2 separate regions of the Homo sapiens genome follow, and region 1 is linked to region 2. Evidence: promoter capture Hi-C in 16 types of primary human blood cells and fetal thymus (Javierre and others, 2016). All regions are on one chromosome and are shown on one strand. The core of a region is centred on a gene start or on the middle of the fragment in contact, and the rest is flanking DNA. Distances in the headings are between cores, read along the strand shown. Region 1 overlaps DDO (D-aspartate oxidase). Region 2 holds the start of CD164 (CD164 molecule).

What was found. The method cuts DNA at HindIII sites, captures the fragments that hold promoters and counts their contacts. A CHiCAGO score of 5 or more calls a contact.
Region 1: a fragment that was not itself captured here is called in contact with the fragment with the promoter of CD164 in region 2 in 1 of 17 cell types (naive CD8 T cells); the score reaches 5.1 in naive CD8 T cells.

What each region holds. Positions count from the first base shown.
Region 1 is chr6:110,392,317-110,397,866 of GRCh38, reverse strand. It overlaps DDO (D-aspartate oxidase), which reads left to right. Exons shown (of 5, transcript NM_001372108.2): 5 at 4,525-5,550. The coding sequence ends at 5,092. Among named protein-coding and RNA genes, the nearest start is that of DDO, 20 kb to the left of the region's middle. The HindIII fragment of the contact is 4,706 bases long and covers 1,047-5,550 here.
Region 2 is chr6:109,379,812-109,384,977 of GRCh38, reverse strand. It overlaps CD164 (CD164 molecule), which reads left to right and starts at 2,511. Exons shown (of 6, transcript NM_006016.6): 1 at 2,511-2,774. The coding sequence starts at 2,600. RefSeq lists enhancers at 1,894-2,123, 2,204-2,553, 2,109-2,618 and a silencer at 2,774-3,053. The HindIII fragment of the contact is 6,848 bases long and covers 407-5,166 here.

The sequences.
Region 1 (5,550 bases), core at 2,150-4,649, 1.0 Mb before region 2:
ATAATAATGACTGGGCATCACTATGTGGTTGCATTACAACAACATAAAGGTGACCAGTCTCCAGGCACATTTAGTGAGTTTTCCTCTGGGATCCAAGGCCTGGGAGCAATCCAGCACAGGAAGCCTGACAAGGCCCAGCCACTAGGATAGCTTAAGAAGTCACCAGGCACAAGTTGGACTTTTATCAGTAGCTTGACCAGCAGGGAACCCTTGAAATGGAAAAGAAAAGACATTTGCACTTATTGAATTCTTGCATAATCATCATAAAAACCCTATAAGTTAGGCATTCTTATCCCTAGGAAACAATTTCAGTGAGTTTTAAAAATCTGCTGATATCCCAAGGCTGGCAGATTCTCTTATTCCCCCAAATTATGAAAATAATTCTGAGTTTTAATTAATTAGGATATCTAGAGCACAGAACATAATGTTCAAATATTAACACATGGAATCTACAATGTAAGAATTTAAAAAACCCACAAAATCAAAATAATATTCAAATAATGATCAGTTAAAACTTTTCAAAATTGAAATATCATCCTTAATGAAACATAAGTGATATACAGGTATGGAGGATAAGAATACACATAGATAATGCACTGGGTCTTGTATTTTACAGTAGCATGAAAAACCCCTAAGCACTTTTTTAAAAATAAAAGGTCTTTATTGAGCAGCTATAGTGTGTTAGACACAGTGTTATGCTTTTTCCAGATGTGTCTCATTTCATTTTCACAACGAGCCTAGAGAGTCAGTATTACTACCCCCATATTATGGATATAAGATTAAAGTTTAGAGAAGTGGAATAACTTGGCCGAGGTCATATGAATGGTAAAGGGTAGAGGCCTCCTAAGCTCTTTTTAAAGTTCTTTTCTTCGTGTTCACTTTTTGGAAGATTATAAACACACAGAAACATGCTGCTCAGTATTACTACAAAACTCCAATTTACTTTTCTTTCTATGCCAATGTTAAGGGGAAAAACAACCTTTACAGTTATTTTACCTTTAAAAACATTTATCTATTATTACATGTTTAAGAACATAATTTAAGCTTCTAAATTGGTTATTCTTACTGAGAGAGCCAAAAACAATCTGTCCCCATAAAATTTGCTATATTTAGTACTTTTTATCTATGAACAGTTTTACTTATAAAACAAACAAACAAACAAACAAACAAACAAAACAGTAGCTCCAGCTTCATTCTCTCTCTTTTAACTACTTTTAATTACATCAAAAAGTAATCCATTGGCTTTATTGGTTCTCTGTGGCCCCAAAGTGTAGATGCTTGCCAGATTCTTTTCTTTGGTTTCCTTGTCTCAGGTAAACAATATACTCCCTTCCTTGGATTTTTAGAATAAAAAGCAACCGAATTTAGGTTCTGTTGTTTGAAGCATTGATGCTGGCAATGCAGCTTGCATTTAATAGGAAGTGCAGTGCAGGTTCATGTGATCTCAGAGCAAGCATAGCCTCTGAGTTCTTCTTGCCTCCTAAGGGTGCTGGGCACAGTACAAGCCCTCAACAAATACTTGTTGAATAATCAGTGAGTCTAATCCAGAGGTTTCAAACTGTTCTTGAAACTGCTCGGTGGACATACTTCAGAGGTCTCTGCAGAGGGAGGGAGTGTGAAGAGACTGAGCAGATGGAGCTCTGCCCAGCAGCTTGACCTTCAGTCAGATGCAGAGAACTGCAAAGATGCTGAGATGACAGCCTGTGGCTTGTACTTGATGGAATAGGAAGCTGAGCTATTGGGGTCAGGGTCTAAGATGCCATTGAGTAGCAATCTTGGTCTCTTCCATGCTCATCAACGTGAGGCATTCTCTCTCTTTCTCTCTTTCTTTCTTTTTTGAGTTGGTGTCTTGCTCTGTCTCCTAGGCTTGAGTGCAGTGGCGGGATCTCGGCTTGAACCTCCACCTCCTCGGTTCAAGGGATCTTCCCATCTCAGCCTCCTGAGTAGCTGGAATTATAGGCATGCACCACCATGAACATGAGACATTTTCTAGAAATGCAATCCAGCATCAGAAGGCCAGTTTTCTGCTGATCTTAACACAAGTTGCAGTTAAACTTTCCAACCAGGAAGTGGGGCGGAAAGTTAGAATCACTTCAAAGAGTCCCTCCTTGCTAAGTTAAAATTAGTTGTCAAACCCATGCCATCATTGACCACCATTGCAGAAGTTTCTGTCTTTTTTATTATTTTCCTTCACATTAAACCTGTTTATCTGGCCTTGAAAGTAGATAGCGCTCAGAACTGCTGTGATGATCACTTCTGCTCTCTTAGGGGCATGCAGGATACAAGCATTCTGCCTCCATTTTCAAGGTCAGCCCTTCCCAGTTTCTCCCTGAAACGGCTTGGATTGCGGCAGTCAGAGAGAGAAGATGCCAAAGTTCTGCCACCCTGTATCTCTCTCCAGACAAAAAGAATGAATAGGATGTGTAAGATCGGCAGGGTGAGTTGGCAGGCAAGCAGGAGACCCAGGAGAGCCAATGGTGTAGCTCTAGTCCAAAGGCCAGCAGGCTTGAGACTCAAGAAGAGCCAATGTTTTTGTTCCAGTCCAAAAAGAGGAAAAAGCCAATGTCCCAGTTGGAAGGCAGTCCAGCGAAGGAATTCTTTCTTCCTTGGAAAAGAGTCAACTTTTTTGTTTTATTCAGGCTTTCAACTGATAGGATGAGGCCTACCCACATTAAAGAAGGCAATTAGCTTTACTCTGCCCACTGATTTAAATGTTTTTCTCATCCAAAAACACTTTCTGCAGAAATACACGGAGTATGTTTGGCCAAATATCTGAGCACCCCATAGCCCAATCAAGTTGACACATAAATTAACCATAGCAGGTCCAAACCAGGATTTCATATTGTCTTTAGTATTGGCTAACACTTACTTCCAGTCCACTTGGTGTGGGGCACTTAGCTAGGTCATAGGGATGGTAAGAAACATAAGATACAGTCTCTCCCCTTGAGGAATTCGTGATTTATTGATATCGGTCCTCTAAGATGTATTGTGATTGACGACTGTTCAAAGTTGTGGCCATTATTTTATTGTAACCTCACAACCATCCTGTGAGACAGGCAAGGGAGGTATCCTCCCCATGATGCAGATGAGGAAACTGAGATTTGAAGTGAGGTGAGTTGGCCAAGAGCTCAAAGCTAATGTGAGGCAGAGCTGGGATATAAAGCCAGGCTTTCTGATTTCACACCACTTCTCCTGTAGAACTTAGTCCATTCTGCCAAGCATTTACACTTCTGTCTGCCAGTTCCTCTGTCAGCCCTTGACGAAGGGCACTGTCACTCACACCCTTCTGGTCCCTCTTAGCAGTGCCCCGCATGCAAGCATTCGGCCTGCGTCTATTGAACAGAGCTGCTGATAGTCTCTTTCTCTATTCTACAAGTGACCTGTGAATAAGATTACATGTCCTGGGGGTTATTGTTTATTGGGTAGACTTTCCATTTTGCAAGATTAAAAAAGTTCTGGAGGCCAGGCACGGTGGCTCATGCCTATAATCCCAGCACTTTGGGAGGCAGAGGCAGGTGGATCGACTGAGCTCATGAGTTGCAGACCAGCCTGGGCAACATGGCAAAACCCTGTCTCTATCAAAAATACAAAAAAATTAGCCGGGCATGGTGGCACACACCTGTGGTCTCAGCTACTCAGGAGGCTGAGGTGGGAGGATCACTTAAGCCAAGGAAGTCAAGGCTGCAGTGAGCTGAGATCACGCCACTGCACTCCAGCCTGGGTGACAGAGTGAGACCCCATCTCAGAAAAAAAAAAAATATTCTGAAGATGGATAGTGCATATGGATGGTGATGGCGGTTGCACAACAAGGTAAATGTGCTTAATACTACTGAACTTTACACTTAAAAATCGTCAAAATGATAAATTTTATGTTAAGTGTATTTTACCTTGATTTAAATAAAGACTACAGGTACTGGATAAACCATTTCTTTTCACTATTGATATAGTTGGTCCAAAAAATATAGTAATTACCAACCACAGCTGCCATTTAGCTCATCAGCTACAAATATTTTGTGTTCTTCTCGTGCTAACATAGTTGTGGACATAAAGCTGGTGGGGATATGACCCCTGTACCTTTTAGTTAGGGAGACCAGGCTAATACAAAGGATCATGCAAGAGTTAACAATATGAGATAAAATGTTTAAGGTAGTAAATTTAGGTGTTAAATAAGTGGTATAAATAAGAAATGCTTGGACATTTAAAATACCAAATCAACTTGGCATTTATTCAGCATCTAGAATAATGTAGGAATTTTACAAAATTTTAAAAGGGCAAAGCATATAATTTCCTTTGTTTTGAATTTTCAAGTGGTTTCCATTTAGATTCAACTTTAGAAATCCCCAGTTCCTAGGATGTGAAGCAGTTGATGGCTAGAATTTGGCCTGACTGGGCCCTGGAAGCTCCTGAGGTGTTTGTTCATCAGATCATCACCTAATTTTTGTTCCTGGGTTCCTTTTCTTTATTTCCTGGAAGTAGTTGATCAGGTCGCTAACAAATATTCACTTCATGGCCTCTCTTCCGTAGGATAAAGGGAAGTGGAGGCTGGACACTCACTCGGCGAATAGAAGACCTGTGGGAACTTCATCCGTCCTTTGACATCGTGGTCAACTGTTCAGGCCTTGGAAGCAGACAGCTTGCAGGAGACTCAAAGATTTTCCCTGTAAGGGGCCAAGTCCTCCAAGTTCAGGCTCCCTGGGTGGAGCATTTTATCCGAGATGGCAGTGGGCTGACATATATTTATCCTGGTACATCCCATGTAACCCTAGGTGGAACTAGGCAAAAAGGGGACTGGAATCTGTCCCCGGATGCAGAAAATAGCAGAGAGATTCTTTCCCGATGCTGTGCTCTGGAGCCCTCCCTCCACGGAGCCTGCAACATCAGGGAGAAGGTGGGCTTGAGGCCCTACAGGCCAGGCGTGCGACTGCAGACAGAGCTCCTTGCGCGAGATGGACAGAGGCTGCCTGTAGTCCACCACTATGGCCATGGGAGTGGGGGCATCTCAGTGCACTGGGGCACTGCTCTGGAGGCCGCCAGGCTGGTGAGCGAGTGTGTCCATGCCCTCAGGACCCCCATTCCCAAGTCAAACCTGTAGATGACATAAAATGACAGCAAAGAGACTGAGAGACTGTTGATCAAAGCACAGAACAGGTTCAAATAACTTTTCCACTGCATGAAAGTTTAATTAGACATTTCTTTGTTTTCAACATTAGAAGTGGTGTAACATGTAAGCTGAGCACGGTGGCATGCCTATAGTCCCAGCTACTTGAGAGGCTGAGGCAGGAGGATTGTTGAGCCCAGGAGTTTGAGTGCAATCTGGGTAACATTTTTTAGAGGTGCCAGTTCCCACCTCTAAAAAAAACACCAACAACAAAAGAAATGATGCAACATGTAGGCTTACTTAGGAAGTCCAGCATTAATGGCATAGGGCATAAAGCTCTATTTTTTGTTAAAAATACTTCTTATAGAGTAAAATTTATTTAGAACTGATGTCCAAGGACCTATGCAGATTTATATGAATGTTGGAAGCTATAGAGATTTTGATATCATTTG
Region 2 (5,166 bases), core at 1,262-3,761:
GAGCTTATACTGCTAGAAGATTCACAAGCGCAGAAGCACTCTGTCTTGCTGCTTTCAAGAAAATAAATGGTTAAGAAGGTCGCTCTAACAACCAATCGACAATCTAATTGCAAGCAATGTGTCTAAGAGGAAATAACCTGAGTGATGGCTGACCTTGCACACAGAAGAACGCTCTGAGGGTGCCTTTCAATTGTGATTTTACCCCCAGGAGACATTTAACAATATCGGGAGATATTTTTGGTTGTCACAACTGAGAGGTGGGGTGCTTCTGGTATCTAGTGTGTAGAGGCTACGAATACTGCCGAATATCCAACAATGCACAGGACAAGCAAGAATGAGTCAGCCTGAAATCTTGATAGCGCCAAGATTGAGAAACCCTGCTCTATGACAACAATAAACAGAAGCTTACTGTCAGGAACTGAAAAAAAAAAAGCTGTCTCTCTGAAATGGTGAAAATGACTTTGGAACTCCCTTGATCTACCTCTACAGTTGCCATGCAAAATAAAATAAACCAATGGTTTTCTAGTCTTAAAACAAGAGCGTGAAATGTCCCTTTATCAGGACTGAGGAATATCTGAGGACTAGAGTTAAACATCCAGGTGACAAATTGTTAAACAATGGTCTGCACAGAGGAGTGTGTTTATCCTAGGGTGGAAAGAAGATAACACACCAAGCTCTGAGAACAGAGCTTCTATTTACATTTTTTTTTTTTTTTTTTTTTTTGAGACGAGTCTGGCTCTGTTCCCCAAGCTGGAGTGCAGTGGTGTGATCTCGGCTCACTGCAACCTCCGCCTCCCGGATACAAGCGATCCTCCTGCCTCAGCCCTGCTAGTAGCTGGGATTACAGGCACGTGCCACCATGCCCGGCTAATTTTTGTATTTTTAGGAGAGACGGGGTTTACACCATGTTGGCCAAGCTGGTCTCAAACTCCGGACCTCAGGTGATCCACCCGCCTTGGCCTCCCAAAGTGCTGGCATTACAGGCGTGAGCCACCGCGTCCGGCCCCTATTTACATTCTTAACCTTAAAAAAAAATTAAAGTTGCCTTGCGCTTTCATTTGGTCTGGGTGCCAGATAGTCAAGTGTTAAATATAGAGAGAGGCCTCCTGAGAGAAGAGCAGACACTTCTCTGAAGGGCTTATGGTGGGAGCTCACTTCCCTGACAGCATTCTCATGCTTCTGGGCTGGATCAGTCAAAACTATCAGCTTTTTGTTTACATCCAAGCAACACTACTCCAACTAGCGTAGTCATTGGAACAAATGTTCATAGTCCTGAGGGTACAGAAGGACGACACTGAAAAGATCCCAAGGGGAAATAAAATCTTTCTATTTGAGCAAAAAGGTAAAAGCACTATGTAGTCATCTTTTTTGGCACATCAAAAAAGTCATCGTGGCACATCAAGACAGACCTCACGAAAGCAATTAATATTCCTATATTATTAGGATAACTTTGCATAATTAAAATTACATAAGTGTACAACAGCTGAAAACACAGCATTAAATACAACTTTTAAAGTCTAATTTTTACCATGTGATAACCGTATCAAATTTTGCGAATATTTTGTGAGACTTGGCAGTAGATGGCGCTCACCTTTACTAAAAGTCTGAGCAGCGCCTTAACACTAACAGGAACTTAAGAATCCAGCTCTGATGTCAGGCAATCCCGTGTCCAGGTCAGGTCACTTTTTTAAGTCTCAGTTTCCTCACTGGTAATGTGGGGGTGGGGGCCTCCCCAATGACCTCGCAACTCAGACCGCTTTTGATTCTCTGACTACAGTGGTGGAGTTGAGACAGGTCGGCTGCTGCAACCGCCGTCTGAAATAGCAATCCGGAAAAGTCAGGTTGGGAAAGTGACAGAGTAGACGCCCTGCGGCTCTGATCCGGGCGGCGCCTCAGCTGCCCACACTATGTGGGCGGCAACGCACAAACTCCTTAACCACGTGGTGCCTCCATTCCCCTAGGGAGTCCCATCACAGGATAACTTCTAGCAAAATCAATCTTCAAGAAAAAAAGAAGGGGTCCTGCCGAAGATATAAGGAAGCTCCCTGGGGATCCCGCAGCACAGCACAAACTTAGTTCTTGAGAGCCGCACAAAACCAACTTCCGCCCCAGTGGAGTTGCGTCCGGAAGGCGCGGCCCCGGAGGTCACGTGGGCCCGCGGAATTACAGCCTGGCGGGGCGCTCAGGTGGAAGCAGTAGGCCACATTATGTCGACTGTTCCATGCAAGTCAGGGTGGGGGCCGTCCCTATCGCAGGCATGAGACAAGTCCAGCTGCGTCGTGTCTGGTAATCTGAGGGCAAGAAGAACGATTTGCAGAAGCTCCCAGTTTTCTTGGCTGTGGCACAGTCGCTTTGAGGGCCAGGTTCCTTCGGCTTCCTCCCGACTCCCCTGCTTCCCCCCGTAGGATTCCCGTTGGTATCGTCCGAGCCCCACCTCCCTCCTCTTCGCCCCCGCACGCCGAAAACAGGGGCCTCTCACGTGACCCCTGCGCGCTCCCGCGGGGGAGCGTAGTCTCGGAGGCGGCGCCGCAGGGGATTGAGGGGTTGACTGAGCGTTGCGAGCCTTAGCTTTCTCCCGAACGCCAGCGCTGAGGACACGATGTCGCGGCTCTCCCGCTCACTGCTTTGGGCCGCCACCTGCCTGGGCGTGCTCTGCGTGCTGTCCGCGGACAAGAACACGACCCAGCACCCGAACGTGACGACTTTAGCGCCCATCTCCAACGTAACCTCGGCGCCGGTGACGTCCCTCCCGCTGGTCACCACTCCGGCACCAGGTGGGCGCGGGCCCTGTGGGCTTCCCGCCCTCCCCTGCCCAGCCGAGCCGCACTGCCTCCTCGCCGTGCGGGCGGGGCCCGGGTTCGGGCCACGGTCGGGCGGGCGGGCCGCGCTCGGGGTGCGGCGGCGACTCCGGCAACATGGCGGCCAGCCTGGAGTCCACTCGTGGCCGGGCCGGGTGGGGAGCGCGCTGGGGGGAAGCGGACGCGCGGTTCCCAGTGGCTGCGGGGCTGGGGCCCCCCTCGAAGTGTTGCAAGTCGAGGTGCCTTTTAAAAGTGCATCGTAATTCCTAGCCTCACTTGGGGTCGGAAATGGGGACGTGGCTTCCTTCCGCGGGGGCAGCGGTGGGGTTGAGGATGGGGCCGGGCGTCGCGCCTCTGAGGTTGGCGGTGGGGCCGAGCTGCCTCTCCCTGCCACTGGTTGTTCACCCTCCCGGCGCCTCTCTCCGGAGGTAGCCTTCTCCGGAAGTCCGGGAAAGAGAAACTTAAAGACGGTAATGCTCGTTCGTGTCTCAGACTTGAGTCTGAGAAGGTCGCTTGAGATTTAATTACATTGGTTTTGCAGATAGGAATAGAATGTAGCTGACGTTTGAGCACGTAGTTAGTGAAAACTTCACACTTCAAAGTATGCGAAAAGGAAGAAAAGTACCCATGTATGTACCGGGTGTTTTGCGTACGTATCCTAAGGCTAAACTGGAAGGTAGGTAGTGAAACCTAGGAGGTAGATGCAGAGACGGAGATGAGTAAACTCTCCTGACATTGTATGTTTATTCTTTTTTCAATTGTTTTTAAAATTTTCTTAACTATGTCCTGTGCTCAGATAGCGTATGTTTAGTAGGTCGTGGAACGGGGGTTTGTGCCCAGGTCTGTGGGTTTTCTAAAACCCGATCAGGAGCGTGTCTTTTGTTATGTGCAGTCGCATAGGGCTGGTTAAGGCATACATACATTTTAAAGCAGAAATTGCCATATACCGTGACAACACAAAAGAGAGAAGGAAGATAAGTTTGAGGTAATAAGCGGGAGAAACACTAGAGGTTTAAAACCTGCAGTCTCGTATGATTGGTTATTCTAGTTAACATTAGTTAAGGAGTAATGTTTACGTAGTTAACATTGGCTTCTTGACCGAAGAATGCCGAAGTGTAATGATTTTTATCACGGCATTCATATTCTACAAATTCTCCTCTAGTTTTAGTATTTTATAAAAGTTTAATAAAGTATATAGTAAACTTAATGTTTTGTTTTTAGTTTAAGGAAGATGTAATGGTAACATTTCAAAACGAGGGAAGTAAATTGCAGTATAATACTGGGAATTCTAACCGCACTATTTTAAGATGATAGAGCAGAATATGTTTGTCTCAGTCTTAATTTGACAGTTTCCTTTCAGAATTGTAGTGTGTGTGTAAGAGAAGGTTGGAAGTATCAAATTAATTTGTCTTTGTGTAATTGAAGTGCGTGCAAAGGAGGTATGTATTTTCTGGAAATCATAAGTGGATGTAGTGTGGTCTGAAAGGTAGCAAGTTTAGTTCATTGTAAAGAACATTTCAGACATTTCACTTTGCTACACCCGTCAAGCACAAAGGTTTTTAAACAGCATGTTTTATCTATACAAACTTCAGAAAATTTATTTTTACTTTATGAACCCTTCCCCACCCCACCGTACATGTCCCAGTCTTTAATAAGTACTAATGATGAAGTATTGAAAGCAGTGCCTCTGCAGAACTATTTTTTAGGCAGGAGCAAAGCAAACGAGAATGTTTGGAGGCATCTAGTTTCTAGGAAAATGAATGGAGCCCAATTCTTTTTTTTCTTTTATTTTGCTGCTTTTTCTCACTGGAAAATAGAGCCCAATTTTATAGTCCGTTCTTCTCCAGAAATTGAATTATGGTGATGAGTACTTGTTTCTGGATTGTTTGGCCTAGGATGAACTATTGACAAATACCTTGTTAACCTGAATTGTATGCACTTGAATATGGGCTTTTAGATGTTGTCTCCAGTTGTGGAGGATCCTGTCGAGAGTGGATCATTTATGAATCGAGAATCCCTGGGAAATTATCTTTGTTTGCAGCAGAATGGGCATCATCAGTGCTTGGGTTCAACCTGTTAAACTACTACTGTTACTACTAAAAATCTCAGGGTTTTATCTGATGTTTGGGGGTAGTGGTTTTCCTATGTGTAGTGTTGGTATTATATCAAAGCCTTTTTCTCGATATTTTTATGTATTAAGGATGCTTTGAAATGCCTAAATCCTTAGTGGCTGTGGGTGTCTTCCAATAGTTGTCCTGTGAAAAAGGATTGGTTAGACAGATACCATCAGGCACTGTACTGAGAGTGACCACTAGCTTGTTTTTCTAATGCGTTTACTTACAGCTTTGTAATGATTGGAATTTCTTAG